Linked DNA regions of Homo sapiens: regions 1 and 2 are each linked to region 3. Evidence: promoter capture Hi-C in human tissues and cell types (Jung and others, 2019). All regions are on one chromosome and are shown on one strand. The core of a region is centred on a gene start or on the middle of the fragment in contact, and the rest is flanking DNA. Distances in the headings are between cores, read along the strand shown. Region 1 overlaps UBXN7 (UBX domain protein 7). Region 2 overlaps UBXN7 (UBX domain protein 7). Region 3 holds the start of TM4SF19 (transmembrane 4 L six family member 19).

Region 1 (4,604 bases), core at 172-2,671, 36 kb after region 3:
AGGCGTGCCCCAACACGCCTGGCTGATTTTTGTATTTTTAGTAGAGATGGGGTATCAACATGTTGGCCAGGCTGGTCTCGAACTTCTGACCTCAAATGACCCGTCCACCTTGGCCTCCCAAAGTGCTGGAATTACAGGTGTGACTCATCATGACCGGTAATGGCTGAATTTTTAATGTATGTTTAAACATCTTTACCTGAAAAGGATTCAACAAACTTAAGATCAACAAGTCACGTAATTTTATTCTCTTGCAACCTCCATCAACAATTTTTTTTTTTTTTGAGACGAGCTTTGCTCTTGTTGCCTAAGTCGGAGAACAATGGCACGATCTCGGCTCACTACAACCTCCACCTACTAGGTTCAAGTGATTCTTCTGCCTTAGCCTACCGAGTAGCTGGGATTACAGGTGTGTGCCACCATGCCTGACTAATTTTTTATATATTTTTAGTAAAGAGACGGGGTTTCACCATGTTGGCCAGGCTGGTCTCAAACTCCTGACCTCAGGTGACGCACCCATCTCAGCCTCCCAAAGTGCTGGGATTATAGGCGTGAGCCACCGCGCCCAGCCAATTATACTTCTTTTTAATGAATGCAATTGGTGTGTATATTTTACTTTGTTTTCTTCAACATCATTTCTGGAACATTTTTAAACATCATATTAATCTCAGTTATTAGGCATATATGCTGTTTTGGAGAATCACCCTAAACATTTTAGTAAAAACTGCTGAGAGTTTTTTCTCTTAAGAGTTGTCTTCCTAGGAGTAGATTCCAAAAATTGGGATTACAAGGTCAAAGAATGTTTGAGAATGATCCCCAAACAACTCTACGATTCGTACAACAGATATCGATACATCAATCGTTAGTGCGTACTTTTTGCCTGTCAGTCCCTTGTCAGCATAAAGACCCATGAAATGCTGCTGAGTGGAAAACAATGGCAGAAAAGCAAATAAGCAAATGCTGCCTCAAATCTTTGCCTAGGAAAGAACAGTGACACGAAACCACAGTTTTGGAATAAATTTATCCTAGAACAGTATTCTTTTCCAAATCAGTGTGACATGGGAAAATCTTAAGAATCAATGAATTTGGTGTAATAACAATCCAAGAACATACTGGACATCATTTTGTGGGTACTGAAAAATGTGAGACTGAGAATATCTTCTGTTTTAAGAAGGTCTACATCATCTCACAAATAGCTTTTTTTTTGTATGAATCCCCCAGAATAAATTATTTTCTTTTTTTGTTGTTTATATTTTTTGTAGAGACAGGGGTTTCACTATGTTAGCCAGGCTGGTTTGGAACACCTAGCCTCAAATGATCCTCCTGCCCTGGCCTCCAAAAGTCTTGGGATTACAGGTGTCAGTCACCCCACTCAGCCCCAGAATAAATTATCTTCTAATATTTGCTTACTGATTCCATGGGTGAAAACCCAAGGTCTAAAAAGAAATATCCTCATATTGAGCCAGGAAGCCGCATTTAACTGGTCAAAGGCTTATTTTAAAATATACAAATATAATAATTCCTTGCTTATAGGAAGTAATATTTCCATTTACTTCCTTATAGGACAAAGATTTAAAAAGTGAATGATAAATGAATAATTAAGCTGCTTTAACTACAGAAACAGTATTTGAAAATAAACGGAAAAATGACCATACGTTCTAGAGATAGACTAGAGCGCACATATTCCTACAGCAGGGTAAATTTACATAAGTCTGCCCCAAAAACAATGACAAGAAAAAAATGTACAAAACTGAAAATGAATAAAAGTCCAGAGTTTAAAATGGAAGAGTCACTTTTTTTTTTCGCTTTTAAAAATTTGTTTACTCACATTCATGCTTTCATTATCTCAGATTTATTCATTCAACAAATACTGAGTACCTATCATGTTTCAGGTACAGTTATAGATATTAAAGTAATAGCAGTTCTAAAATATAAAAATCTTTGCCTTTGTGAAGCTTCCAATGGGGGAGAAACCTAATACTAGCAAAAGAAACTTGGAAATGATACTAACCACATTGAAGATATTGTTAAAAAATTGTTACTGCTAAAAGGAAGGGTGCAAAGACACAATTTTCAAACAAAACAACAATATTGGGAGGGAATAAAAGAGTCTTGAATAGGCCAGGTGCAGTGGCTCACACCTGCAATCCCAGCACTTTGGGAGGCCGAGGTGGGTGGATCACCTGAGGTCAGGAGTTCAAGACCAGCCTGGTCAACATGGTGAAACCCCATCTCTACTAAAAACACAAAATTAGCCAGGCATGGTGGTGGGCACCTGTAATCCCAGCTACTCAGGAGACTGAGGCAGAATTGCTTGAACCTGGGTGGCAGAGGTTGCAGTGAGCCAAGATCGTGCCATTGCACTCCAGCCTGGGCAACAGAGTGAGGGGAGGGGAGGGGAGGGGAGGGGGAGGGGAGGGGGGGAGGGGGAGGGGGAGGGGGAGGGGAAGGGAAGAAGGAAGGAAGGAAAGAAAGAAAGAAAAAAAGGAAGGAGGGAAGGAAGGAAGGGAGGGAGGGAGGGAGGGAGGAAGGAAGGAAGGAAGGAAGGAAGGAAGGAAGGAAGGGAAAGGAAAGGAAAAAGGAGAGGAAGAAAGAAGAGTCTTGAATAAGTCTAGAGATCTCATGTACAACATGAGGACTATACTTAATAATATCGTATTATACATTGAAAATGTGCTGAGAGCAGATTATTAGGTGCTCTTACCACACACACACACACACACACACACACACACACACACACACACGTAAAAAGACAATTATGGAAGGTAAGGACAGGTTAATTTGCTTGACTGTAGTAATCATTTTACTATGTATATCCAATCTTCATGTTATACATCTTAAATATGTACAGTAGTCTGGAGCAGTGGCTCACACCTATAATCCCACTGCCTTGGGAGGCCAAGACAGGAGGATTGCTTAAGGCAAGGAGTTCGAGACCACCCTGGGCAACACAGCAAGACCCCATCTCTAAAAAGATTTAAAATAATTGAATATATGCAATTTAAAAAGAGAGAGTCTTAAAAATAATCTAAGTATACCAATTATGTGAATCAAGGACTGGAGGTGAGAGTGGGCCATGAGAAAAATAATCTCCTCATGGAAGATTATCATTGAAGAAGATTACTGGAATCCTTGGAATCTATTAGGTTGTTCTGAATCAACATTTCAAAGCCATTATAATGGAGACCCCAGAGTAAAACAGCGGGAGACTAACGTCTGTCCCAGTACCAGCCAGATCAGGAAGGCATGATAAAAAAGGATTTAGGCCTGGCATGGTGGCTCATGCCTGTAATCCCAGCACTTTGGGAGGCCGATGTGGGCTGATCATTTGAGCCCAAGAGTTCAAGACCAGCCTGGTCAACATGGCGAAACCCCATCTCTACTAACGATACTAAAATTAGACGAGCGTGGTGGCGCATGCCTGTAATCCCATCTACTTGGGTAGCTGAGGTACAAGTATTGCTTGAATCTGGGAGGCAGAGGTTGCAGTGAGCTGGGATCATGCCACTGCACTCCAGCCTAGGCAACAGGGCAAGACTGCCTCAAAAAAAGAAAGAAAAAGAAAATGAAGGATTTGAACAAATTTAATATGTTTCAGTAAGTATATATGCATAAAGTCGAGAAGAAAATATATTAAAATATACACAGTACTTTTTTATGGAAATGGAAATTACAATTTTATTTTTCCTTGTTCATTTTCTAAATTTCAATGATTTGTCTAATTTGAATAAAACTAAATGTAAACAATATAAAGTTTAATCAGAAAAATGTTATATATTGCCAGGGGCAGTGGCTCTTGCCTGTAATCACAGCACTTTGGGAGGCCGAGGTGGGTGGATCACCTGAGGTCAGGAGTTCGAGACCAGCTTGACCAATATGGTGGTGAAACCTCGTCTCTACTAAAATTTAAAAAATTAGCCAGGCGTGGTGGTGTGTACCTATAGTCCCAGCTACTCGGGAGGGTGAGACAGGAGAATCGCTTGAACCCAGGAGGCGGAGGTTGCAGTGAGCTGAGATCGCGCCACTGCACTCTGGCCTGGGCGACAGAGCGAGACTCTGTCTCAAAAAAAAAAAAAAAAAAAAAAAGAAAAGAAAAGAAAAAGGAAAAATTAGTTACTAACTAGGCTCTTCTTCACATTTTCGGCTACATATTTTCACTTGCATTTATACTAAATACTTATGAAATTAACAAAATATTCTTAGTAATTAGAGCTAGGTGCATGTGTAATGGGATACCAATTTAAAATGTGGGTTTTTTTTCCTCATGAAATAAGAAATATTGGCCGGGTCCAGTGGCTCACACTGGTAATCTCAGAACTCTGGGAGGCCAAGGCTGGTTAATCACTGGAGCTCAGGAGTTCAAGACCAACCTGGGCAACGTGGCAAAACCTCATCTCTACAAAAAATACAAAATTTAGCCAGGCATGGTGGCACACGCCCATAATCCAGGCTACCTGGGGGACTAAGTTGGGCAGATCACTTGAACCCAGGAAGTTGGGGCTGCAGTGAGCCGAGATCGTGCCACTGCACTCCAGCCTGGGTGACAGAGTGAGACTCTGTCTCAAAAAAAAAAAAAAAAAGGAAGAAATATTACCGAAATTGTT
Region 2 (4,911 bases), core at 1,683-4,182, 53 kb after region 3:
AAAATGTGGCACATATACAACATGGAATACTATGCAGCCATAAAAAAGGATGAGTTCATGTCCTTTGCAGGGACATGGATGAAGCTGGAAACCATCATTCTCAGCCAACTATCACAAGGACAGAAAACCAAACACCACATGATCTCACTCACAGGTGGGTATTGAACAATGAGATCACTTGGATACAGGGCAGGGAACATCACACACTGGGGCCTGTCGGGGGCTGGGGGGCTGGGGGGCTGGGGGAGGGATAGCATTAGGAGAAATACCTAATGTAAATGAGTTGATGGGTGCAGCAAACCAACATGGCACATGTATACCTATGTATCAAACCTGCATGTTATGCGCATGTACCCTAGAACTTAAAGTATAATAAAAGAAATAAATAAGCTACTGTTTGTTTTTTTTTTTTCCAGTCTCTCTCACATGCAGTCAAACCCTTACTCTTGATCACCTAGAACTAGGTCCTGCAACACAAGGCCTCAATAAATATGTATTGAGTGAACAAGTGAATTAATCAGTCTCTCTCATCTGGTTAGCATGAGCCAGAAAGAATCCTTGAACATGACCTACCTCTAGTTACACTAGCTTCTAAGCCTGTAAAACTGTGGCTCACATTTACATCTAATATGAGGAACAAACCTATGGGCCCTCCTTGGTCAGCCAAAGAGTATCCCTCTAATTTTTAACATTTATCTTTCTAAACTTCAATGACTTAATTTTGCTTGTTATCTCCCTAATTGTTATAAAACTAATACATGTATCATTAACCATAATGAAATACCTGCTTTTGGAAGGGAATATTTATTTCATTTAAAGTCTTGCAGATGGTTAAGTATAATATTATCAGTGAAAAAAAAAATGGACTGCTGTAAACACAGGCCATGAAATACAAGGCAAAAAAGGTGATATAACTTAAATTTCAGGGGACAACATCAAAAGAGATTCGTATTTTCCCTTAATGACCAAGCAGAAAAGTAACTGCTTTTTCACTCCAAAGTGACCAAACTAAATCAAGCTTAGTTACTGCATTACGTCCTAGAGCAACTCATAAGCTAATAAAAATAGAACACGTGCCAAAACAAACTAAGATCCTTTTCTGCCTTTAATATTGCTGCTATTCTCTCTCTCAATGGCTGTAGTATCACCAGAATACTAGAAAGGATAGGCAGCTGCCATGTTGAGACCATGAAGGAAAGATGAAGAAAACTGAGGAGACATCTAACCTGACATCTTTGAGCTTATGAATGAACAGCAATAATTTCTTCAACTCTAGGCTTATTACTGACAAAAAGAAAGCATTGTTTGGTCAAATTATCATCATTTGGGTTTTCTGTTACATGCAGCCAAACCACTTTCAAGGTTTTCTGATTCAGAAAATTGAAACTGGAGAGCACGCTGATATGGTTTGGAAATTTGTCCCCTCCAAATCTCACACTGAAATGTAATCCCCAGTGTTGGGGGTGGGGCCTCGTAGGTGGTGTTTGGGTCATGGGGGCAGACCCCTAGTGAATGGCTTGACCCCTTGCTCCTCGCACCATGTGCTACACCGGCTTCCCCTTTGCCTTCTGCCATGACTGCAAGCTTCCTGAGGCCTCACCAGAAGCAGATGTCAGCACAATGCTTTCTATACAGCCTGTAGAAACGTTGAGTCAAAATATACCTTTTTCTTTATAAATTGCCCAGTCTCAGGGATTCCTTTCTAGCAATGCAAGCAAACTAACACACAAGCTTACATTGAAATTCCTTCTCCTAAATACTTCATGTATGACAGTGTAAAAGTATATCAAAGGACACATTTAAAAAAAAATAATCATAACATATTCAAATATGCAGCTGATATACATCGGTTGTTTATTTTAAGAAATGGGGTTTCAGCTCATGCCTGTAATCCCAGCACTTTGGGAACCAAGGCAGAAGGATCACTTGACACCAGGAATTTGAGACCAGCCTGGGGAACACAGCAAGACCCCCTCTCCACAAAATATTTTTAAAATTGGCCAGGTGTGGTAGTGGGTGTCTGTAGCCCTACTTATTTGGGAGGTTAAGACCAGGGGATCAATTGAGACCATAAGTTGGAGGCTGCAGTGAGCCATGATTTTGCCACTGCACTCCATCCCAGGTGACAGAATGAGAACCTGTCTCAAAAAAAAAAGACAAAGAAAAGGGAAAGATAGGGTCTCACTATGTTGCCCAGGCTGGAGTGCAGTGGTTTTCATAGGCATGATCATCACACACCACAGCCTCAAACTCCTGAACTCAAGGGATCCTCCCACCTCAGCCTCCCAAGTAGTAGTTAGTTTGGGGCACCTGTTGGGCTTGATACACATCATTCTTGCAGTTATTCTTTGGCCTACAGGGTCCTAACAGGTAAGACTTAACTGAAGGCTGGGCGCGGTGGCTCACGCCTGTAATCCCAGCACTGTGGGAGGCTGAGGTGGGCAGATCATGAGGTCAGGAGTTTGAGACCAGCCTGGCCAATATGGTGAAACCCCGTCTCTACTAAAAATACAAAAAATTAGCCAGGCGTGGTGGTGCGCACCTGTTTTCCCAGCTACTCAGGAGGCTGAGGCAGGAGAATTACTTGAACCTGGGAGGCGGAGGTTGCAGTGAGCTGAGATCGTGCCACTGCACTCCGGCGAGACTCCATCTCAAGGAAAAAAAAAAAAAAAAGACTCAACTGAAATGTAACTGATTTACATCTATGGAAATGCTATTGTAATTCAAAAGAGCATTAACATGTTAATCAACACGAAAAGGCAAGCTGTTTGAACACCTCAACAGAAGAGTATCTAAAATCTTTACTAAACTCCTTCATTTAACATATGTGTTCCTCCTAATGCAAGAGAATGGGTCCCAAGGATTATTAAAAAGAATGATCTTTCCTCTGCCCTAAGTAAGTCTGTAAGTTAGCATACAACCAAGTAAACATACTCTGGAAAGTTTTTGTTTGGGTTTAGTCACGATAAAACCAAGAAGAACTGAGGGTGAATGTGTTCTCCAATTAGAGATATTCTTTTCAAACACATTACGATCCGCACAGAAATATAGACAAAAGACACCTATCAACAATTTACAAATGGCTAACAAACCACACACACTATTCTCAGTAGTAGTCAAAGATATATGAACAAGTGAGATATTTTAAAAAGCTATCAAAATGGCAAAGATTCTAAAATGACACCGCACAAGGCTAATAAAAGGATTTCATCAATCTCATATACTGCTGGTAGAAATATATTTCATATATTGCTGGTAGAAATATAAATCAATGTAACCTTTAGGCATATCATGTAGATATACTTATTATAATGCCAATTCCCTATACACTGACAATGGTTTTTTGTTCTTATAAAAATAAAAAATGCCACTGAAGGCCAGGTGCAGTGGCTCACACCTATAATCCAAGCAGTTTGGGAGGCTGAGGCAAGAGGATTGCTTGAACCTAGGCATTCGAGACCAGCCTGGGCGACACAGTGAGACCCTGTCTCTACCAAAAAAATTTTTTTAATTAGCTGAGTGTGGTGGCACATGCCTATAGCCCTAGCTACTCGGGAAGCTGAGGTAGGAGGATCCCTTGAGCCCAAGAGTTCAAGGCTGCAGTGAGCTATGATTGTGTCACTGCAGTCCAGCCTGGACGACAGAGCGAGACCTGCTCTAAAACAAGTAATTTTTTAAAAAAAGGCATTGAAAATGCAAAAGGATTCATAGTTAAGGCACTGACTCTCCAACAACTTACTGTTTCAAAGCTGCCTTTATGCATCAAATCAATGGGTGGCCGGAATAGATCTGCAAGGGTAGTTAATTTCTTATCGATAGCTCCTCCATTTCTTAATTCTTGTTCTTGCCGAACTATAATACAGAAGGATGAAAGTTTCAGTTAGCCATAATCATGAATCACACTGAAAAAAAAAAAAAAAAAAACACAAACTTCTGTCAATTGAAGGAATTGCTGTCAATATGCTTGACCTCAAATACAAAGATCTAATGTTGACTCTGAAAAAAAAAAATGCAAAGGGAGATAAGAGGAATCTTAAGACTTGGTGGTATTCCCTATCCCAAGGATACAAAGAAAATTAACTGAAAATATTCACTTAATCAAAGTAACCTCTTCACATATTCAGAAACTAACTGTAACATGGGAGAGGCTGAGTGCGGTGGCTCATGTCTATAATTCTAGAACTTTGGATGGCCGAGGTCAGCAGATCACCTGAGGTCAGGAGTTTGAGATCAGCCTGGCCAAGATGGTGAAACCCCGTTTCAACTAAAAATACAAAAAAAAAAAGCCGGGCATGGTGGAGCATGCCTGTAATCCCAGCTACTCGGGAGGCTGAGGCAGGAGAATAGCCTGAACCCTGGAGGCAGAGGTTGCAGTGAGCAGAGATCGCGCCACTGCACTCCAGCCTGGGCAACAGAGTGTGAGACTCCATCTCAAAAAAAAAAAATTAGCCAGGTGTAGTGGCGCATGCCTGTAGTCCCAGCACTATGGGAGGCTGAGATGTGCGGATCACCTGAGGTCAGGAGTTCAAGGCCAGCCTGGGCAACATGGTGAAACCTCATCTCTACTAAAAATACAAAACTTAGCCGGGTGTGGTGGCACAAGCCTGTAGTCCCAGCTACTTGGGAGGCTGAGGCAGGAGAATCGTTTGAACCTGAGAGGTGAAGGTTGCAGTAAGCTGAGATCATGCCACTGCACTCCAGCCTGGGTGACAGAGCGAGACTCCATCTCAAAAATAAATAGTAATAATAAAAAAAAGATTATGACAGTAGAGATGATGACCACTGTTGTCACCTTCCACTGGAAGGACACAGGATTCCCTAGATGACTTGAGTCAGTTTAGGTTCCCCATCAATTCTCTCCAAAGTCACAAGACCTATCTGTGCCTCAATGAACTCATTCTAAATAAACTA
Region 3 (4,650 bases), core at 153-2,652:
GATGTAATCCCTTTCCTTGAGGAGCTTAAAGTCTAGTGGGGACACTGCTGACGCAAAAAGCAATTCTTTTTTTTTTTTTTTTTTTTTTTTTTTGAGACACAGTCTCGCTCTTGTTGCCCAGGCTGGAGTGCAGCGGCATGCTCTTGGCTCACTGCAACCTCCGCCTCTCGGGTTCAAGTTATTCTCCTGCCTCAGCCTCCCAAGTAGCTGGAATTACAGGCATGCACCACGCCCGGCTAATTTTGTATTTTTAGTAGTGATGGGTTTTCGCCATGTGGGTCAGGCTGGCCAAAAAGTAATTCTAATCAAGTGTGGTAAGAAATAGAGCAGACATGAGCAGGGCGGGAGAGGGCCTCTACCCCAGTAATGTCAGGTGACTATCAGGTGATGGCCAGGCGGTTGTTACACTGTCTTTCTAAAATAATATTGGTCACAGCCAGCGTTGGGAAAGACAGTCTCCCAATAGATAGAAAATACCTGAACTTGGTGATCAGCAGCTTCCTGGTAAGAGCTCAGGAATTGGGCGAGTGGGCTCAAGCATCTACACTAAGAAGCAAAATGGTGGAGTTTAGCTGGTGTGTGTGACCTTCCTCTAGTGCTGCTCCGCGGGTAAGGGAAAAACGCCTCAAGTGAGCATGCGCACGACTTCAGTAAACACACTGCGCATGCGGCCCCTCCCAAGTGCCTGTGCGGCAGGCAGGCGCCAAGTCAAGGGTCTAACAGCACATTTGGGTGTCTCAAGTCACGCACTTGGCCCTTTTCCAAGTGTACTTTACTTCCTTTCATTGCTGCTCAAAAACTTTTTAATAAACCTTCACTCCTGCTCTCAAACTTGCTTCAGCCTCTCCCTCTGCCTTAAACCCACTTCTGCCCCTCAGCCGAATCTCTCCCCCGAGAAGGCAAGGATTGAGTTTGCTGCAGACTCGCTGGATTCACAGCTGGTAACAGTAAGTACCAGGCAGGGGCATCCAACTTAAGGTGTCATGGAAGCACATGGAGGAACCTAATCCTATCTGGCAGAAGCAAAACGAAGCTTCCCGGAGGAAGGGCTGCCCATGCCCAAACTTGATGGACGATGAGATACTAGGCAGGAAGAGTATTCTAGGTGCAAAGGCCAGAAGTTGACAGACTGAGGCAACAGGAGAAGGTAAGTGAATGGCGCAAAGTCACACAGACGCCAAGCTGCAGAGCCAGGCTCACTGGAGTGGAAGCGTGCACTCTCATCTGTGAGGCTAGGCTGTTCCCTGGCCGTCACCTCACCCTTTCATCTCTGCTTACCTGCATCTGGTGTCAAGAATCAGAATGGGAGAGACAGAACCTGGAGAAAGGCTGCGTCTTCAGAGTGGGGCTCCACTCCTCCAGCTCCAGGGCTGGACCTGAAGGTTGTCTTTCCAGGACTCTTTCCAGGAGGGCCAGGGAGGCTCTGTATATACGTAGAGGTCACCCAGGCGTGTGTGTGTGCGCGCCCCCACGCCCCTGCCCACAGGCCTGCATTGAAGGCGCTTCCGCTCCCCGGAGAGCCCTGTCCTGATGACCCACCCTCTGCTCATTTTCATGTGATTCTAAGGCAGGAAACGGGAGACATGGCCTCATGAGCTCCGCTGTCCTGATGAGTCACTGGATGCACCCGTGAGAAACACCTCACCCTCCGCTCTCCCCAGGCAGCAACACTTGCCACACCCCAGCTGTTCCTGTCCTCATCTGCCACCCCGCGAAGAATTTCGGCTCTTTGACAGAACAGCACCGAGCAGGGCAGCCACCCCTTTTTCCTCATCACTCTCCTTACCTTGCCCTTGGCTGACTCGATGTGTTGCATGGTTCCTGTACTAGACGTCTAACTTTTTTTTTTTTTTTTTTTTGAGACAGGGTCTCACTCTGTCACCCAGGCTGGAGTGCAGTGGCATGATCTCGGCTCACTGCAACCTCCGCCTCCCACACTCAAGCAATCCTCCCACCTCAGCCTCCTGAGTAGCTGGGATTACAGGCACCTGCCACCATGCCCGGCTAATGTTTGTATTTTTAATAGAGACGGGGTTTTGCCATTTTGGCCAGGCTGGTCTCGAACTGCTGACCTCAGGTGTTCGCCTCAGCCTCCCAAAGTGCTGAGATTACAGGTGTGAGCCACCGCACTCAGCCTCTTGTTCAAGCCCCAGGCCACTATCATCTTGTACCATACTCTCACCAAATTGCTGAGGATTTTGTGGTGCTCTCTGTGTGGGAGATCCGTGACCCTCTATGGACAAGCTCCTATTCAAGATTCAGTTCAAACATTCCCAGTGAAGTCTGCCAGGATTTCTTTACTCCGAGTTAGGTACTTCTTTCTCTATGCTCCCATTGCATTTTAAACATCTAGATATTATATACAGTAAAGTGCACAAATCTTTTCTTTTCTTTTTTTTTTTTTTGAGACGGAGTTTCACTCTTGTTCCCAGGCTGGAGTGCAGTGGCACAATCTCAGCTCACTGCAACCTCTGCCTCCTGGCTTCAAGCAATTCTCCTGCCTCAGCCTCCCAAGTAGCTGGGATTACAGGCACGTGCCACCACGCCTGGCTAATTTTGTATTTTTAGTAGAAACACGGTTTCTCCATGTTGGTCAGGCTGGTCTCAAACTCCCGACCTCAGGCGATCCACCCGCCTCCGCCTCCCAAAGTGCTGGGATTACAGGTGTGAGCCAGCACGCCCAGCCTAAAGTGCACAAATCTTAATGTTAAAGTCTGATGAATTTTTACATGTATACCCTGGTGAACCAGCACAGAAATCAAGATACAGGACATTCCAAATCCCCAGAGGTTTCATTGTGTCGCCTGTCATTCGTATCCCTTGTCCCCAGTGTTAACTTTCATTTTGGCTCTTATAATAATTGATTAGGTTTTAGTTGTTCTTGAATTTCACATAAATGGAATCAAACAGTTTTCTTTAAAAAAAAAAAAAAAAAAGGCGGTTTTGCTGTGTCATCCAGGCGGGAGTGCAGTGGCACAATCATGACTCACTGCAGCCTTTTGCCTTCATAGGCTCAAGTGATCCTCACACTTCAGCCTCCTGAGTAGCTGGGACCACAGGCAAGCGCCACCACGCCAGCTGATTTTTTAATTTCGTGTACAGATGGGGTCTCACCATGTAGCCCAGTCTGGTCTCGAACTCCTAGGCTCAAGTGATCCTCCTGCCTCGGCCTCCCAAAGTGCTGGATTACAAGCGTGCGCCACCGCGCCCAGCCCAGTATGGCTTTTGTGTGTGGCTTTCTTCACTCAATATTCTATATGTAAGATTCATCCATCATGTAATTTATTTTTCTTTTATTGCTGAGTATTATTACATTGGATATTACAACTTTTTCTACTCTTAATGGACATTTATATTTTCAACTTTTGCCTGTTATAAATAATGCTGCTATGAATATTCTTCTGCATGTCTTTTGAAGGAACTATGCACTAATTTTTCCAGGGAATATTCTTAGGAGTAGGATTGCTATCATAGGGCAGGTGAATATTTAATTTTGGCAGATATTGCCAAACAGATTCCCAAAGTAGTCCTAATTTACACACCCACCAGCAGTGTGTGACAGTTCCAGTTTCTACACATTCTCACAAACATTTTTAATTTTAGGCATTGTGGTGGGTGTTTAGTGTAATCTCCTTGTGTTTGAATTTGCATCTCCTTGATGAGTAAGCACCTTTTCATATACGTATTAGCCATTTGAAGATCCTCTTTGAGAAGTTCCCGTCCATGGTTTTTGCCCATTTGTTATGGGTTATCTTTTTTTCTGTTTTCTGGTTCATTATAATTCCAGGTATGAGACCTTTATCAGGTAAATTTATTGTGAATGTTTTCCCCCAGTTTGTGGTTTGACTTTTTACTCTCTTTATTATGTCTTATTTTATTTTATTTTATTTTATTTTATTTTATTTTATTTTATTTTATTTTATTTTATTTTATTTTATTTTATTTTTTGAGACAGAGTCTAGCTCTGTTGCCAGGCTAGAGTGCAGTGCCACGACGATCTTGGCTCACTGCAACCGCCATCTCCCGGGTTCAAGAGATTCTCCTGCCTTAGCCTGCCGAATAGCTGGGATTACAGGCATGGGCTGCCACGCTCAGCTAATTTTCGTATTTTTAGTAGAGACAGGGTTTCACCATGTTGGCCAGGATGGTCTCAATTTCCTGACCTCGTGATCCACCCTCCTCGGCTTCCCAAAGTGCTGGGATTACAGGCGTGAGCCACCCCGCCTGGGCTTACTTGAAGAGAAAGTACTGATTTTAATTAAGCTCCATTTATGCATCTTCTTTTATGGTCAATATTTTTGTGTCTGCTTAGGAAATCTTTGCCCACTTCCCACTGGAGTGTGACTCACTTCTTACTCCACCGCTGTGAGGTCCTTGCAGGCAGGGACTAACTCTTACTCTGCTCTGTATATTCTGAGCCTCACACAGAGCTTGGAACATGGTAGAAGCTCAAGAATGACTTGATGAATGAATTAATTCGTGCAATGCATAATTCATGCAACACAGTCTCTGCACAGAGATTTTACTTCCAGTGATGAAAACAAACGATTACTGAGGAAACCCCTGATGCACATACATGAGAAGGGATCGTTATGACTGGCTATCACAGTTCCATTTTTAAAAATAAAATTGGAACTCTTCATTAATTTT

What was found. Contacts are between HindIII fragments. The study calls those that stand out against the background at their distance.
Region 1: a fragment that was not itself captured here is called in contact with the fragment with the promoter of TM4SF19 in region 3 in 1 of the 25 tissues and cell types used here (pancreas).
Region 2: a fragment that was not itself captured here is called in contact with the fragment with the promoter of TM4SF19 in region 3 in 4 of the 25 tissues and cell types used here (aorta, mesendoderm cells, psoas muscle and 1 more).

Annotation. Positions count from the first base shown.
Region 1 is chr3:196,372,483-196,377,086 of GRCh38, forward strand. The region is part of intron 5 of UBXN7 (UBX domain protein 7); the gene reads right to left. Among named protein-coding and RNA genes, the nearest start is that of TM4SF19-DYNLT2B, 36 kb to the left of the region's middle. The HindIII fragment of the contact is 7,607 bases long and covers 1-4,604 here.
Region 2 is chr3:196,388,074-196,392,984 of GRCh38, forward strand. It overlaps UBXN7 (UBX domain protein 7), which reads right to left. Exons shown (of 11, transcript NM_015562.2): 5 at 3,740-3,852. Among named protein-coding and RNA genes, the nearest start is that of UBXN7-AS1, 41 kb to the right of the region's middle. The HindIII fragment of the contact is 8,329 bases long and covers 1-4,911 here.
Region 3 is chr3:196,336,986-196,341,635 of GRCh38, forward strand. It overlaps TM4SF19 (transmembrane 4 L six family member 19), which reads right to left and starts at 1,403. Exons shown (of 5, transcript NM_138461.4): 1 at 1,279-1,403. TM4SF19-DYNLT2B (TM4SF19-DYNLT2B readthrough (NMD candidate)) reads right to left here and starts at 1,435. Exons shown (of 6, transcript NR_037950.1): 1 at 1,279-1,435. It also overlaps the pseudogene RNU6-910P. RefSeq lists enhancers at 927-2,126, 1,493-1,787 and a silencer at 1,536-1,707. The HindIII fragment of the contact is 8,804 bases long and covers 1-4,650 here.